Linked DNA regions of Homo sapiens: region 2 is linked to region 1. The links are contacts of gene promoters, found by promoter capture Hi-C in human tissues and cell types (Jung and others, 2019). All regions are on one chromosome and are shown on one strand. Each heading gives the region's core, a stretch centred on a gene start or on the middle of the fragment in contact. The rest is flanking DNA. Distances are from core to core; before and after follow the strand shown.

Region 1 (6,265 bases), core at 1,923-4,422:
TAAGACTTTTAAGATCATACTGGTAGTAATATAAGCCCAAATTAATTTTTTAATAGGCAGAGCTAACTCTGCCCCTACTACTAGGAAGATCTTTTTATTAAATTAACAAAGAGGAGGAAAAACTAAATTTGACATTGAACTCAATTACTCTCATTAAAAATACAACTGATATTTTTAGTGAGTACAAATAATTTTATACCATTAATAAAAATTATTTTAAAATATTGCTTAGTTCATTTTCAGCTCATCTTTTTAACTTAAATTTTTGTAACTTTAAAGTAAAGTGTGTGATGTATTAGTAAAAAAGAATAATGCATCTCATCCATAAATTCAATAGGCTTATATCATACTTGAGTTCCAGGCTCTGTCATTCACTAGCTGTGTGTAATCATAGGCTAGTCTCTGGATCTCAATTTTCTTCTCTGTAAAATGTGAATGATAGTTCCTACCTCACAGATTTTGTTGAGAAGACTTGTTTTACGAATGTCTGGTACAGCTGAAGGATCTCAGAGTTTTGATTCCTGTCCCCATAAGGGGACAGTTTTTAACAGTTTTGGCCAGTTATTTTGCTAGTTGTCCCTCAATATGGGTGTGGTCTGTAGTTCAGTGCTGAGGTGTGAGTACTAGAACATGTAGGAAACACTTTTGATCAGGAGACTTTTTGCAGCGTTGCCAGAGGTCCGCCTCCTCCACTAGGGCAGACGTCCCCGTCAACCCGCGAAAGGATGCCAGCCAGCCTGGAGTGGCTACCCAGGGAAACTCTATTGAGTTGTATCTGCTTTCAGCAGATGGTTGCACTTAGAAAGGAATTATTATATTTATGAAACTAATACTCAGAGAGCAGTAGACATGACTCCAACACACACAAAGAATCTAAATTGAATACCTCACTTTAAGCCTATAAGATCACATACAGGTCACTGTAATTGCTATTTATAATCCAAGGGCAATACTTACACACTTTTGGTGATTCCTTGGAAATTATCTGTAAAAGCTCTAGATTTTTAATTTTTGGCAATTTGGTGTACAAAGATTTTAGGTACTCATTTAAAATCCTAGTAACTATTAGGTAAACAAGATCTTGAATTTAAAAATTGTATACTCAGATTCAAGTATGAATTTGGATATGTATGATCTAAAATGCAAGCCTATTCCTTTGAAAACTGCATAATTGTGAGAAAACTGCAGACCAAACCCATATTGAGGGACATTTAGCAAAATAACTGGCTTATACTCTCCAAAACTGTCTAGGTCAAAGCTGCCTCAGGTGTGGTTCCAGACTAAAGGAGGCTGAGGGGACAGGACAACAAAAGGTCATGCATGGTTCTCAATTCGCTCCTTGGACAATTGATGAAATCTAGATATCTCTAGATTTAAAAACAGTATTTTCTCAATAGTAATTTTCTAATTTTAATTAATTCCAATTAAAATAAATTTTAATTAATTCCAATTAAAATAAATTTTAATTAATTCCAATTAAAATAAATTTTAGTTAATTCCAATTAAAATAAATTTTAATTAAAATTAATTAGATATAAATATGTGTATATATACATATACACACATATGTATATATATCTATACATATACACACACATATATGTATATATACACACACATATGTATATATGTATATACACACACATGTATATATGTATATACACACACACACATGTATATATGTATACACACACACATATGTATATATGTATATACACACACATATGTATATATGTATATATACACACACATATGTATATATGTATATACACACACACATATGTATATATGTATATACACACACATATGTATATATGTATATATATACACACATATGTATATATGTATATATACACACACATATGTATATATGTATATATACACACACATATGTATATATGTATATATACACACAATGTATATATGTATATATACACACTCATATGTATATATGTATATATACACACACATATGTATATATGTATATATACACACTCATGTATATATGTATATATACACACATATGTAATATGTATACACACACATATGTATATATACACACACATGTATATATGTATATATACACACACATGTATATATGTATATATACACACACATATGTATATATGTATATACACACACATATGTATATATGTATATACACACACATATTTTTATATATACACCCATATGTATGGATACAGAGAGAGAGAAAGAGAATGATAAAGGAAATATGGTAAAACAGGAACATCTGGGTAATTTGGCTGCACCTGAAATTTTCTGTATTGTTTGCAACTTTTCTGAAAATCTGAAACAATTTTTAAAACTCACTCACCAACAAGTTTCCTGTCATTCTAAATACGAAACAGCATATCCGCACACCTGGCAGCAGCCTGCTCTCTGCCTCCCTGATTTATTCACAAAGAATTAAAAAGTCCTTTCCCCGTTTTCCTGCTAGTACTGTAGGCCAAGTTCATTACTCGCCTCCCTGACACATAATATTTTTTCCTTTCTCTGTCATCCATAGAACTGAAAACTCCCTGTTGTTTCTAAGATATTCTGTATCAGACAAAGCATTAGCGCCTTTCCATTTAAGGTTGTTGGTCTACAGGGGGCAGAATTCCGAAAAGATTTGGGCTTTGTTGTTCCATTAAGATCCCCCACACATAAATCCAACTGTATGAGGAAAAAAATTGTTCCTAGATAAGAAGAAAAACTCATTTTTAAATCATGACAAATAATAAAAGAAGAAATAAATTAAAAAAAAAAAAGCAGCAGCAGCAGCAGCATGTACTACCATCCATCTAGCTCCAGGAACATGGGGCTTTGAATCTGAGGAAATCTGAGTAAGGGCTCAGAGCCTCTCTCTGGGCTCAGACGATTTCCAAACATTAGCAGGAACATTCCAGGAGGCCCCCTGCCCACATCAGAATAAACATGGTGTCCTCTGTTCTTGTTTTCTCCATCCTTGTATGTCCTCTCAATCTTGACTATTCTTACAGAAAGTTTTCCCTGGGATATAATGAAATGGCCCATACAAAAAAGTACACTTGTCATTTAAAGATGAAAGTATAAAATGAAGTAAAATAAAAACCAATGGAATCCTCTTACCTTCAAATAGCAGTTGTTGTGTGAAACAGATTCTGCGTCTATACCAGGTCCCTGAGGGTTTGAGCCTACTTCAATGCATGCAGAATATATAGGGAGAGGTTATAGATCTGGGTTTTTCATTACACAAGGTGTTTTTGATGAGTCCTCAGCGAAGATCCACTTAAAAACAAAAGCTACACAAAGACTACAAAAAGGCCACACAAAGTTTAAACAAAAGGCTAAAGAAAGACCAAACAAAAGCCAAAGAAAGTTTAAACAAAGAGCGAAACAAAGATAAAACAAAGGCCAAAGACAAAAACAAAGAGCAAAAGAAAATCTAAACAAAAGCTAAGCTAAGCTATAACCATATCTCACACACACATACACACGCACCCCACATTCACTCTACAGCCCCCCAACATTCACATATTCCAGCCTCCCACCTCCCACATAATCAACACCCCATGTGAAAACTCACCCCTCAAGGTTCATTCCACATAAACTCCAGTTAAGTTCCATGCCAGGTCCAACCACACCACACACCAGCTCACCCTACCAAACCACACACCCTTCCACCAACATGCTATGCCACCACAGCGCCATCCCACCCAGCACCCCATACCTCACTCACACATCACAAGCCATACCCATAAGCCATGAACACAGCTGCAATCACATTGACAAATTCCAGGAGTTTTTATACTCCATGTAGATTAAATACCGATCACACTTCCTTCCCTAAAACACTCATGTATACCCATAGATACACCCCAAAACTAAAATTCACACAAGCATGCCCTTGTACACTTGATTAGCAAGAGTCTAATCCAGTCTAGTTACAACTAACATTGAATTTGGAAGTTTCCATGACAATTACCCTATGCATTCACATTTATGAAAACACGTATAAATCATCTCTTATGTTGAACAGTTTCTGCGAATGATAAATCTCATTCAATTAACATTTTATTGGCTTCAGTCTTAGACACCGGCATTTTCTTATAATTTTCCTAACCTAAAATGTGGGGCCACACCTTTCTGTGCTCTGTTAAATGCCATGGGTCCTGTAACTCTGCTTCTGCTATTTATTTTATATATGTAGAACTAGAACTACCCACTAATGATTTGAAAGATGAAAGCTTACTTCTGAAACCAATCCAACCAACAGCAGCCTTGCCTTTTGAATTCCCAGCGCCCCCTCCATGACAGTGTAATATAAATGTCAACATTACCACCAAGTTTCTCTTTAGGCTCTTGTCTCAGTAAAGAATCAGCCAGGGAACCTTGAAAAGGTAATCCAGTGAGACTACAAACATTGACTATAAATCTCTTTGTACACTAACATTTTTGTTTTTGTTTTTGTTTTGAGACGGAATCTGGTTCTGTCCCCCAGGCTGGAGTGCAGTGGCGCTCTCACCTCACTGCAACCTCCACCTCCTGGGTTCAAGCTATTCTTCTGCCTCGGCCTCCCGAGCAGCTGGGACTACAGGCACCCACCATCATGCCTGAATAATTTTTGTATTTTTTAGTAGAGACAGGGTTTCGCCATGTTGCCCAGGCTGGTCTCAAACTCCTGACCACAGGTGATCCGCCTGCCTTGGCTTCCCAAAGTGCTGGGATTACATGCTTGAGCCACCGTGCCTGGCCTCTTCGTATACTAACTTTATAGTTAATTAAACATTCTCTGAGTAATGAGTTATAGACGTATGCTGGTTGATTCACTCCCACTGTGATGCCAGTATTTTGCTTGTGTTGTACTGACTGTGACTGAGGGCTGGGGAGTAGGGTAAGATGGTTTAGAGCTTGAGCTCTGGAGGCACTGACACTAGGATCATCACAGGACCCACCTCAAGGATTTGAGTGAGGACTAAATCAGTTAATATGTGTTCACTGGTGGAAAGAATGCCTGGCACACAGAGTCCTGCACCAATGTCACTCTTATGGCCCTGGCCCTAAAGAAGGTTACCAACAGGGGTGGGTGGCAGTTGTAAGGACTTGTTTTCTATTCACAAAATAACTGGAGACTAATTCAGGCTATTTAAAAAATACAAGATCTAGTAGATATATTATAAAGCTCTATCTTTATTAAAAGACCCTCTGCTTCTCAAATCTTTCCAACAAAAGTTCTTAATGACACATTTTGGGGAAGTCCCATCTTTGATCTTCTACTCCACCATATATAGAGTGATATACAATTTACACAACCAAAGTATGGAGGTTCCACAAAATGCTTGTAATGCCATCTTTTTCTATTTCTACTTAAATGTTAGTGTTTGCCCTTAGTGCGGTGGCACCCTCACTCCCAGAACCACTGGGGAGGCCACGTCTGAGTCAGTGTCACTCTTCTTGAATGGCAGCCTGTGTTCCACACAGAGCAAGACCTCCCAGGACTCACAGTCACAATTAAGAAACTTGCTAACACTACAGAGGATTTTCCCACAGAAACTTTGGCTACAATTGACAATCCCCACATGTTATGAGTTAAAATGTGTCCCATCCCTCATCTCTCAAATTCCTTTGTTGAAGTCCTAACCCTTAGTATCTCAGAATTTGGAATGAGGCCGGGTGCAGTGGCTCACTCCGGTAAGGCCAGCACTTTGGCCAGGAATTTGAGACCAGCCTGGCCAACAGGGCAAAACCCCATCTCTACTAAAAATACAAAGAAATTAGCCAGGTGTGGTGGCATGTGCCTAACATTACAGAGGATTTTAATTCCCAGCTACTCAGGAGGCTGAGAATCGAGAATCGCTTGAACCTGAGAGGCAAAGGTTGCAGTGAGCCAAGATTGCACCACTGCACTCCAGCCTGGGTGACAGAGCAAGACTCTGTCTCAAAAAAAAAAAAAAAAAAAGAATTTGGATTCAAATAAGGATTTGAAGACAGACCACAGAGGTGATCAAGTTATGAAGTCATTAGGGTGGGCTCTGATGCAACATGACTAGTGTCCTTACACAAAGAAGAAATTTGGACAGAAAGACACATTTGGAGGGAGGACAATGTGAAGCCACAGGGAGAAGATGGTCATCCACAAGCCAAGGAAGGAGGCCTGGAACAGATCCTTCATTCACAGCCCTCGGAAGAAACCAGCCCTGCCCATACCTTGACCTCAAACTTCAAGTTTTGAGAACTGTGAGACAATTCATTTCTGTTGTGTACGTCACCCAGTTGGTGGTAC
Region 2 (6,265 bases), core at 2,147-4,646, 39 kb before region 1:
GTTGGAGAATTCACACTAACTGATTTCAATACTTACTACTAAGCTACAGTAATAAAGTATGGCTTTGGTGAAAGGAAAGATATATAAATTAATAGAAAAAATAGAAAGTCTAGAAATAAACCCATAAATATATGATCAACTGATTTTTGGCCAAATTGCAAAGGTAATTCAGTGGAGAAACTTTTCAACAAATGATGTTGAAATAATTACAAAAAAATTGAGCCATATGCAAACCATATACAAAAAAATTGAACCTCAATTCATACGTCACACCATTACAAAAAATTAACTTAAAATGGATAATACTGTAAAAGTAAAACCTAGAATTTAAAATTTCTACAAGAAAATATCTTTGTGACCTTGAATTAGAAAAAGATTTCTTAAATACAACACAAAAAGTATGACCCTGCTGGGGGTCCCTGGGGAACAGTGTAGACCTGTACATCAGTATCTCATCTGTATCTCATCAGAGAGGTGAAGAAACTGGGGTATCAAAAATAAAAAATAATAATTTTTTATTTTTAAAGACCAGTGTGATAGTAAAATTTGATAAATTTGACTTTGTCAAAACTTTGGCTCTTCACAAAACACTGTGAATAAAATAAAAAGGCAAGTCACAGACCTGGAGAAAATGCTTGCAAAACATATTGTTTATAAATGTCTTGTATCTAGAATATTTTTAGACCCCTCAAAATACAATAATAAAACAATCCGATTTTTATATGTAGAAGATTTAAGCAGAGATTTCACCAAATAAGTGTCTTTAGTGGATTATCTTTATACTCATTAAAAGATGCTCAACTTCACTAGTCATTAGGAAAATGCAAAATTAAAACTACAATGAATACCATTACATACCTATCAGAATGAATAAAATTTTTAAAGCTGATAGTACCAAGTGTTAACAATAAGCCCAGGTTACTGGTAGGAATGAAAAATGTTACAACTTCTTTGGAAAATAATTTAGCTGTTTCTTAGAAGTTTAAACAAATAACTACCATATTACCCAGCATTACCAGTCCCAATTATTTACCCAATAGAAAGGAAAACTTATGTTCACATAATGTTCACAGCTTTATTCATAATCACCAAAACTGGAAACAAACATCTTTCAACCGGTGAGTAGCAAACTGTGGCATGTGAATCCATATATATATATATATACACACACACACACAAACACTCTCACACACATATGTGCACGTATGTATATACATATATGCACATACATATAAACATACACATATATAGAGAGAGACTATATGGATGCATATGTATATATACTATATACATATATACTGTATAGGGATGCCTGTATATATAGTTGTGTTCATCCAAGGCTGGGGTTTTCCCAGGGGTATAAGACAGATATTCAGAAGGCAAGGGATTCTAGGGTATTTGTGAAAGAGATTAAAATGTTGGGGCCAGGCGCGGTGGCTTATGCCTGTAATCCCAGCACTTTGAAAGTCCGAGGTGGGCAGATCATGAGGTCAGGAGTTCAAGACCAGCCTGACCAACATAGTGAAAGCCCTCTCTACTAAAAATACAAAAATTAGCCAGGCATGGTGGCGCATGCCTGTAATCCCAGCTACTCAGGAGGCTGAGGCAGGAGAATCACTTGAACCCAGAAGGCAGAGGTTGCAGTGAGCCGAGATCATGCCATTGCACTCCAGCCTGGGCAACAGAGTGAGACTCCGTCTCAAAAAAAAAAAAAAAATGCAACAATATGGTTCAAAAGCACTATGTTAAGTAAAAGAAGCCAGGCTCAAAAGGCTATAATATTACATAATTCCACTTATATGGAATCTTAGAAAAGGCAAAAGTTAGGGACAGAAGATAGGTCAGTGGTTACTATGGGCTGGGGAGTTGACTGCATAGGTGAAATATAAGGAAATTTTGAAGGGTAATGAAAATATTCTATATCTTACTTGTGGCAGTAGTCACAGGACTATGTGCGTAGAAATGTATGCCAAAAGAGTTTAATTTTACCACATGTAAATTATACTTCAGTAAGCCTGATACATATGAAGTATGTGTGTGAGCATATAAACTACACATGCATACATGACACTTTTGAGGTACATGCTTCCTTTTTTGTCTGAATGCATGCAATTGAACTATAACTGCCCAAAGGAAACTGCTTAGTGATAGGATAAACACAATTCTGCTTATACCCAGCTACTATCGTCCTGCTGTGTGCTGTTCTCCAGTGATGCTTAGCTGCCCAAAAACAAACATGGTGAAGCCAGTTAGCTGGGTTCATCAAAGGCTGGGGTTTTCCCAGGGGTGTAAGACAAATATTCAGAAGGCAGGGGATTCTAGGGTATTTGTGAACGACATTAAAATGTTGGGATATCATTTCTAATTTGGAAAGCGAGGAAAGTGGAGTCTGATAGATGGAGATAAAAATGGAGGAGTCAGAACACTGGAGGCACATGGTAAAGTTTAAGAACAGTTGCTGTGAGGGCATTTGGCAAACAAGTTGGAAGAGAAGCAGAGTGTGGATGTGGAGTTGTGTGATTCCACTGATAATTTCAGAGGTGGCAATCTGTTTCCTTTCATTGGAGAAGGAGCTCCTTAAGAACAAATGATTTATATACAGCTCTGTTGAGCTCAGCTCAGCCAGCCCTAACTACTGCCTAGAAGCCTGGTCTCTAACATTCCAGGTGTACCCTAACCTTCTCAAACTTCTAGCTCGCTCATTCTCGGGCATGACCTCTATCTTAATGCCTATTAATGGGTCTCTCTCTACTTTGCACAATCTAACAGCTTTTCTTGTTCCCATCAAAGGCCAATCCCTCCATATGTGCTATGGAGGAGACTTATTTTATCAACTACCTCCATTCCCTCTACTTTGTTTCTAGCTTGATCTCAATCCTGCACCCCTTCCCATCAGAAAGTCAAATTGGCCAGCATTTATATGCAGGGGAAAATTGGAAGTTACAATGTGCTTAGGTTTCCAACTTGGGGGATTAGTTGGACAGCTGTGTTATTTGCTGAGATAGCAAACAAAAAGAAGAACAAGTTTTGTAGGAAAGAAATCAAGTGTAGACAGATTAGGTTTTCCAACATCAAATTGATCTGCTGAGTGAATAGGCTCACATATTAATGTCAATGATGAATTAAGGTTTAGAAGTCATCACACGTGAGTCATAATTAAAACCACAAGAGAAGGCAAAATCATATAAGCAGAGAGCTCAGTAGGGAACCCTAGGGGACCTCAAGGTTGAGCAATTGGCAGAAAAGGAAGCACTCACAAGAAGATGAAGAAGGAAAGTTCCTGCAGAGAAAAGGAAGAAGAGAGTCACAGAAACCAAGAGAACAGAGAGTTTAAAGACTGAATGAGAGAACAGCCCAACAAATCCAACAGAAAGCACCACTGATATACAGATTGGGTTCAGCACTCATTAGGAAAAGCAGCATGAAGGCCACAGGTAACCATTAGAGCAAACACTACTGGTGCCTTGCCCATAACCCCTTGCCCTTACCACTCTTGTGCTCAGCCCCACTTCCAGGTGCCAGCACTTGCCTTTCTTTTCCTGAGGGCTTTTATCTTGCTGCTGCAGTCCACTTTGCCATCTCCTTAACAAGCTAGACGTGTCAAAGAATGAATGCCCCCATCCTTGAAGCAGCGTTGGCTGACTAATGTCTGACGAGAACTGGTGTATAAATATCCCAGTTCCTCCACCCCTCTGGTAAGATAACTGACGCACATGTCTACACTGTTCCCCAGAGGTCCTCGGCAGGACTAAGTCCCAGGAACCCACGGTGAGAATTGGTTAGATAATGCTTTTTTTTAATTGGCTCTTTCCCTTCCTTATCTTGCTTCCCACATTCCTCCAGTGTCCCCTTCACCTCCCAAATAAACTTCTTGCCCTTGCATTGTTACTTCTGGAGGAATCTGCACAAGAGGAATTCCAGGGGCGGGGGTGCTAAGGGAAGAAATTAGAACACAATGAATTGAAGAGCAAATGGGATTTGAGGAAGTAAAGATGACGAGTTTACACTATTCTTTTTAAAATTTGTCTAAGGTAGAGAGAAAAGAGGATAGGGCCAGACGTGAACAAACAGTCAATATGAGAGAGCAAAACACGTCAAAATGCTAATGAGAAAGAGACAAGATACAAAGGCTGAAGTGGTTAGGGGGGTTGCTAAGTTGTACAGCAAGACCTCAAAGGAGATAAGAGGTTGGAAGATCACAGGGAGGGGTGGGGGACTGGCCTCATCAGCGAATGAATGCTTCAACCTCTGAGGCTGAGGGGAAGGATTTAAAGACAGATGCATATTCTGATGAACGTGTGGGGGCTGGTGGAGCCAGGACAGTCTGGGGAGTGGCTGGGGTTCATCCATTTGTGGTGGCACCAACCCACCAGGCTATAAAGCTTTTCCCAAACTGCACTCAGCAGCTCTATGCACACATGACCATCCTCAGCAGCTGGAAAACCAATGCAGGCAGGTTGTGAGCTTGATCTAGAATCAGGGATTTATAAAACGAGTGTTGAAGGAGAATGAGAGACAATTGGGTTAAGGCTATCAGAGAAGGCGTAGTTAACCATGTGGTCTGGACCAGGTAAGGACCTGTGACCAGGCAGAGGCTGTCACACTCCAAAACAACACACAGCTCCCAGGACTGGAAGCCTCTCTGGCTAACCTAGGCCTCTGCAAAAGCATCTGTTCTGCATAAGCATTGTGCTATAGGGACCACCAGGATGTATAAAGGACTGCTCCCAGATAGGAAAGAGTATATGCCACAGATAGGGCAAAATTCAAGAGTTCAGTCACCCAAACTAATAAAAGCAATAATGCAACCTGAGACACAGGCAGAACAAGAGCCTGAACAGAAAGCAAAGAGCTCAGGCCTTTTCTCTAGCTCTGCTGTTACCTGGAAAATCATAGTCTTCCAGGCTGCTTGTGTGCAGGGCTCAATTTAATAATATAAAACATGCTGTGCAGAAAAAAATGAGTCAAAGGCACACACAGCACTTCCCAATATATGTGACTGATTGACTCCAAATTAACCACCCACAGCCATGGTGGTTTTCAAAGAACCACAGATCCCCAGCTCCCAAAAGCAGAACACTGAAACCAAAAGAGGCCCAGGACATACCTGTTAAACCCAAAGGCAAGGACAACCTTGTGAAATCCTAAAATCTTAGAACTGGGAGGACAGAATAAACTAAGAGGGAGATGCCACGGTTTCCTCCTATCAAATATTATGAATGCTACCATGTTTAATCAGGATGCTGGAAATCGTACAATCAGTTTCTAAGATTAAATCATTCTCTGGTTTTTGAGAAGACCTATCCAAGGGAGTTATTAAGAATCCAATTAGGCCTTTGCCAAAATTATTTAACCTCTAAAAGCAATACCTCAGAAATAGCACTGTTTCAGAAAGCAAGTTGGCTTCAGAAAATCTTTTTTACCCTTTCTTCATGTGCAAGTTAGTAGCTCTGCTTAAGAGCAAATATTTCCCATCACATCAACCTGCCTCCCACTCCTTTGATTCAAAATAGTCAATCAGTATCAATAAAAGGAATAGACAATATGATGAAGAAGTGGCTCCAATATATTACCTGAAGACCTTTGGGAATCTAAGAAGGAAAAATGAATATCTCAAATAGGACTCAAGACAGTGCATAAGTGAAGTCAGGGGACATTACGAATGAAGACTTTCAGATCCTCTGTTCCCAGGTAAGGGACAATGGCTGAGGAGGTAATAACGGCCTGTGGAGGCACCTTCTGATACCCACTGAAATTAGTTAACTGAGGGAGTCAAAGCACACCAACACTAGGGTATCTCCTGAATTTAGGTGAATACACTGATCCAGGTTAGGTCCAGACAAATCTGTGGGTATGGTGAAGTTTGCTTTCATTGTCTTCTAACTCCTTTCCATGTCCTGATTGAACTCCAGCCACCCAAAGCCACCACTATAGGTGGCATGCCTTTTATACAATTAATTTCCTCTGTTTCATACATTTTCTAACTACTTCCATATATCAATACTTACCTGTCCTAGGACCCTTCTACTCAGGGTCCTTAAGAGGGACTCAGTTAATGACTAGGTAACCTGTCATACAACTTGCTATTAAAGTTTTAGTGACTAGTTACTTCCTTCACAAATTAAACTTGCCTAATCTTGTGCCTTTTTAATGCTTTCACTTTTGGTACCATAAATTTATCACTCTCCACATTTCTTTACCTCACATCACAAATAATCTGGATTATTCATTTATGGATTGTTTAGGTCAGCATTGCTCATTGTGT

What was found. Contacts are between HindIII fragments. The study calls those that stand out against the background at their distance.
Region 2: a contact is called between a fragment that was not itself captured here and the fragment with the promoter of MOBP in region 1, in 5 of the 25 tissues and cell types used here (hippocampus, mesendoderm cells, neural progenitor cells and 2 more).

The regions. Positions count from the first base shown.
Region 1 is chr3:39,464,587-39,470,851 of GRCh38, reverse strand. MOBP (myelin associated oligodendrocyte basic protein) reads right to left here and starts at 3,172. Exons shown (of 4, transcript NM_001393704.1): 1 at 3,112-3,172. RefSeq lists an enhancer at 2,872-3,554. The HindIII fragment of the contact is 13,076 bases long and covers 1-6,265 here.
Region 2 is chr3:39,504,004-39,510,268 of GRCh38, reverse strand. It overlaps a transcript of MOBP not described here. Among named protein-coding and RNA genes, the nearest start is that of MOBP, 39 kb to the right of the region's middle. RefSeq lists an enhancer at 3,878-4,377. The HindIII fragment of the contact is 4,996 bases long and covers 899-5,894 here.